2 separate regions of the Homo sapiens genome follow, and region 2 is linked to region 1. The links are contacts of gene promoters, found by promoter capture Hi-C in blood cells and fetal thymus (Javierre and others, 2016). All regions are on one chromosome and are shown on one strand. Each heading gives the region's core, a stretch centred on a gene start or on the middle of the fragment in contact. The rest is flanking DNA. Distances are from core to core; before and after follow the strand shown.

Region 1 (2,700 bases), core at 157-2,656:
TAATTTTAGGAAAGCCTTCCCTGAGGCACTCTGAAGAAATTAGGTCTGTTTGAACCACATTCATTCCCGTTACCCAGCACATTTCAGTTGCACTGTCACCATCAGTTTGGGTGTCTGTCTTCTCAGATTGTAGGACCTTGAGGATAAATACTATCTTTTGTTTATTTTTGGGTCCTCTGTATCCACCTCAGCCTCCTGCTTTTTTTTTTTTAAACTATCCCACATTAATTCTTTTTTTTTTTTTTTGATAACGGAGTCTCGCTCAGTCGCCCAGGCTGGAGTGCAGTGGCGCGATCTCGGCTCACTGCAACCTCCGCTTCCCATGTTCAAGTGATTCTTCTGCCTCAACCTCCCAAGAAACTGGGATTACAGGCGTGTGCCACCATGCCCCGACTAATTTTTGTATTTTTAGTAGAGACGGGGTTTCCCCATGTTGGCCAGGCTGGTCTCGAACTCCTGACCTCAAGTGATCCATCCGCCTCGGCCTGCCAAAGTATTGGGATTACAGGCATGAGCCACCGCGCCTGGCCCACATTCTTTTGAAAGACCAAAATAATGAACAGCTAGTTTCATGTAGGTTGTAAAACTTGACCTTGGATTTACTGACACTAACATGTGCACTACACCTTACAGTCCGTAAAATGTTCCTGCATTATTTCACTCCATTGTCACATCTTTGTCAGGTTAGTTATTATAAATGCATTTGTAGTTGAGCCATTTGCTCAAGAACCAGAGCTGTAGTCTGTAGCTTTGTTGCTTTATCCTTGGTCTCAGAAGTCTTCTACTGTACTATAGCTATCAGAGCAGGGATTGATGCCTTAAAGGATGGCAGCTTTTGCAAAACTGGAATAAGGAAGTATGGAAAGGCACCCCAAAACAAGAGAGGTGGCGCACAGCTTGAACAAAGGCAGTGCTCAGGAAACCTACAAACAGCATCGTGTACAGCAAAGGATGATGGGAAAGTCAGCCGAGCCTCTGAGTTTTTTCACGAGTCGTAAACCCCTTACAGAGCTCCGGGTTTTGCCTCTAGCTCTGGAGCACCCCGCCTCTGCCCTTTAACCTGTACTTCCTCCCTCCCTCCCTTCGCGCCGCGCCGCGCTAGTCTCTTAGCCACTCCGAGGCCACCAACCAGCCTCCCAAAGCTCCCATTGGGTTGCCCACCCTTTCAGTCTCAGCTCCTCCCGCCAGAGGCCCCGCCTCCCACAAGCGAAGCTCTTATTTCCGTTCTTCCGGCGTAGGCCGCCAAATCAGTCCGTACAGTGGCGAGGCAGTCGAGCAACAGGAAGCGGTCGCTCTTTCCCCAAATCCCACTGCCTTGTGGGATCTCGGCAAGTCATCCACCCACCCCCCGCGCCTACGCAAGTTTTCCGGATCCGTCCACCCCCGCCTCCCTCCTAGTGTACGGAAGCTGAGAGGGCCCGCGGGTAGGCATGGCGGCGCACCTTAAGAAGCGGGTTTATGAGGAATTCACGAAAGTGGTTCAGGTAAGCTCTGGCGGGAAAGATCCAGAACCGATCCGGACCAGGGTAGATTATCCAAATCCCAGGCACTTTGCCGGAACAGAAGAGGCTCCATACGCCCGTGTTAAGTGCTGACTTGTTGATAATCTCTGATATTGCAAGTTAGTGGGCGTGTTAGTTTGCAGCCGCTGTTGTCATTAATATGTGAAGTCTGACAGGATTTTAAAAAAATTATTAGGAGAAACAGTGTTTTTTAATTTACGAAACTGTCTTATCCGTTATTTCATTTTATTCTCTCACACAACTTTGCTCCATCGCGTTACATTAGCATCCTCGTTTTCCAGATGTGGACATTGAGCCTTCCGGAGGGGTACGAGGATACAGCCAGTTAGCAGCAGAGCCCCTTCTAGCCTCCCCGCACCCCCGTTCCAAAAAAAAACCTCCCAGGGACCAGTTGGAATATACACAAGGTTCTAAGGGGCTGAAAGAAGGGTCTATAGAATTCCTTCAGGCGCAGTCTAAGCAGGCGGGGGTCACAGACTTCATAGGGGAAGAGCTCTCTATTGGTAGAACAGCTCACCTAGGAAGGAGGGCAGTACCTTCCTCACCATGAAGTTGTGACAGGTGGGCAGAGTCCCTGTCGGGAGTCAGTGATGCTCCATGTGTCTCCACGTAGATGTTGCTAGGGTTGATCCTAAATCATCCTGATGTCCTATTTCTCAGATATTAATGTGTATACAAATTACCTGGGGACGTTGTTCAAATGTCGATTCTATTTGATAAGTCAAGCAGAGGAGGTGAGGCAAGATTCTGCATTCCTGACATGCCCCCAAATTTACACCAGTGCATTGGTTGCATTCTTAGATCCTTAGACTTGTAGAGTGGCAAGGCTTAGAGCATCCAGCAGGATACTGATCCTTAAACATTACATGGATTCATTCATCCAGCATTAAAATATGTTAATACAAATACAAAATATGTCAATACATAATATAAAATTTACAATTTTAACAATTTTAAGTATAAAGTTCAGTGGCATTAAGAACATTAGCACTGTTGCACAATGTGATTTCCTCTCTTCCCAACATTCTGTTGTTCCCATTTCCCAAGACTGCTCAGCCCTCTTCCACCCATCCTCACATGACCAGATATGCCATGTGTTCTTGTGTTTGCATATCTCAAAACTCTTGCACTGGTTGTCTCTTCTCACAGAATACATGCCATTCTTCCCTTTCTTTTT
Region 2 (2,774 bases), core at 275-2,774, 1.6 Mb after region 1:
AAGAGGAGCTGTTATATCTAAAAATCCTTGAGTAAAACAAAGACTGGCCAATTCTGTGAAATGCTATTACCAAACCCCTGCCCCCTGAATGTTTCCAGTCTATGTGGTATTACTTGGAACCCACTTGGGAAAAGTTCCATTCCATAAATCCTGGCAGAGGCAGGAAGAGAAGAGACAGAGTTTGAACTTGCAGAAACTGCTTGTCGGGGTCCAAATGGAAAATCAGATATCAAATTGGTTGTTACAAACCTATTCACAGACTCAGGGGAAGCAATTTAACAACAAGTGGCATAGAGTTGGAGGCTTAGGAGAGAAAGCAAATTATCCCAAATTGTTCATCTGCTGCAACACCATTATCTTCCTCTTTAAACTTTGTTATTTTAGCCAATAGTGTCATCATTTTCTAATTCCTTTTTTTTTTTTTTGGGACAGAGTCTAGCTCTGTCGCCAGGTTGGAGTACAGTGGCGCAATCTCCACTCACTGCAACCTCTGCCTTCCGGGTTCAACAGATTCTCCTGCCTCAGCCTCCTGAGTAGTTGGGACTACAGGTGTGCACCACCACGCCCAGCTAATTTTTGTATTTTTAGTAGAGACGGGGTTTCACCATGTTGGCCAGGATGGTCTCGATCTCTTGACCTTGTGATCCACCCACCTCAGTCTCCCAAAGTGCTGGGATTACAGGCGTGATTCACCACACCTGGCCAGTGTCATTTTCTACTGATGCAGGTTGGAAGCCTCATGCTGTTCCACCTGCCCCGGAAGCTTTCCCTAATTTCACAGCCCTGTCTCACCCATCCTCATGGATCCAGTTCAAGAACCATCTCATCCATGAAGCCCATCAGCCCTTGGAGATCTTGTTCATAACCTCCACATTGTCAATGCCCAGCAGTGTCCTAAAAACAGCAAGTTCTCAAAACTATAGGCATTAGTTACTAAAAACAGGCTGCTGTGTGGGAATCCGCACATAGGCAGCAGGCTCCCTTAATTCAGGGACTAGAGAGCCACCTGGTCTTCCTCCCCACACAACACAGCCTTGCCTGGGTCCCCGGGTTTATATTTTCTAGCACCAGATCCTCCTCTTCCAACAGGGGTGATACCCAAATGAGTGGAGGTCCAAAGCATAGGACTAGAATGAAACAAACCCAGCTCTTCTGTGAGGTGTAGGCCTGTGAGAAGATCAGTATTGGTGGCCAACCCCTGATTCCTAAGGGTGCCTACTGAGTCATCTGGGCCAGATCAGCCCCTAGGCCCAGCACTGTTCAGTAATACCAGCATGCTACTACCTTCTGTACCATACCTCAGGCCCTGACTGCAAAGCAGGCTGAAACTGTAAGCCTTCTTTTGGGGTCCTCCCAGAAAAGCATGCTTCCCTGGGCACAGAGATACAGATTCCAGGAGATCCTGTTCCTCTCTTCTCACTGGCATGATCCTCTGAGGCAGAAGGTTGAGAACAAAGGAACAGGACAGCCACAACAAGCTAAGGTCTGGGCAGAGAAGAAATCCAAACTTGTTGAGCAAAAGAAATCAAGAACAAGCAAATACCAGAAGGGAACAGCCAAAAGTTTTTCAAAGTTATGGAGAACAGCAAGGAAAATGGTCCAAGAGTCCAGCAAAGAGTAATGAGGAGGGCCATGGCACATAGGGAGGAGTGGTGAAGACTGAAAAATACGTGAGCAGCCAAAGAAGGTGCCTAACAGTGAGGCAGCATCCTAGTTCTGGTTCAGCTAACTCACATTCCTCTCACCATGGGGTGAACCAATTCTCAGCTACCCTGGGGGGAAGGCTTGTTGAAGATGACGCCTGCAGAAGCTGACTGGCAGAGTAGTGGACTCTGGGATGGGATACCGGCAGGGGCATTTCCCCACCAGCTTCACCCTGGAGATAACTCCATGTTTCAGAACCTGTTACCTTTTTCCTCAAACATGAGCTATTTTTCCTAGTTTCCTTTGAAAGATCGGACCGAAAGTCAAGTTTTCGTGGTTTAGGCTCACCCTTCAAAACACCCGAAATAACTTTTGCAGAAATCTTCCTCATGTTCAAGTTTTCTTTCAAAATGAGCCTAACAGTTTCTTTGTCTAAATTTAACTCTTCAGCCATCATCCTCACGGTTAACTGCCTGTTTGAACAAACCAAGTCCTTGACCTTCTGGATATTGTCATCTGTTCGGTGGGTGACTGGACGCCCACTTCGGGCATCATCTCGAACATCTTCCCGTCCTTCTTTAAACCTTTTGTGCCAGTCAAAAACTCTGGCCCTTGACATGACTTCATCCCCATAAGCTTCTTTTAAAAGATGGTGGGTCTCACTTGCAGACTTGTTCAATTTCACGCAAAATTTGATACTAATCCTTTGTTCTAAATAGCGGTCACTCATTCTGGCACTGAACAACACAGGAACGTTTAACAGGCCACGACTGTAAGGGAAAGACGGACAGATCAATCTTTATAGGGCTGCAGGTGTAATCATATCGCTCTTCTTGCTCTTCTAGAAGCCTCGCCGGGAAAGAGTAATTGCTTTTATGAATTTTTGTCCCTCAGCTTCCAGTCGAGGCTGGGGAGATCCGTTCTGGGAAGCCAACAGTCGCTGCAAAGCTGGGAAAAATTAAATCGCCTACAACCACGTCTGCATCAAACCAGTGCACGCACATCTGCCGAGAGTTTGCCAGTCACCAAGGTCGCTCCGATTCCGCGGCCCTTAAGGAGTATATGGCGAATTCTGCAAGAAAGGCCTAAGTGGTGGCAAATTAAGCAAGCAAGAAGAGATGCATCGGTGA

Evidence for each region. The method cuts DNA at HindIII sites, captures the fragments that hold promoters and counts their contacts. A CHiCAGO score of 5 or more calls a contact.
Region 2: a contact is called between a fragment that was not itself captured here and the fragment with the promoter of INTS4 in region 1, in 1 of 17 cell types (non-activated CD4 T cells). The highest score is 5.0, in non-activated CD4 T cells.

Annotation. Positions count from the first base shown.
Region 1 is chr11:77,993,374-77,996,073 of GRCh38, reverse strand. It overlaps INTS4 (integrator complex subunit 4), which reads left to right and starts at 1,406. Exons shown (of 23, transcript NM_033547.4): 1 at 1,406-1,484. The coding sequence starts at 1,431. RefSeq lists a silencer at 1,022-1,091 and an enhancer at 1,292-1,491. The HindIII fragment of the contact is 5,814 bases long and covers 1-2,700 here.
Region 2 is chr11:76,381,429-76,384,202 of GRCh38, reverse strand. GVQW3 (GVQW motif containing 3) reads right to left here. Exons shown (of 2, transcript NM_001347885.2): 1 at 1,910-2,774. The coding sequence starts at 2,374. Among named protein-coding and RNA genes, the nearest start is that of GVQW3, 1.5 kb to the right of the region's middle. The HindIII fragment of the contact is 1,517 bases long and covers 766-2,282 here.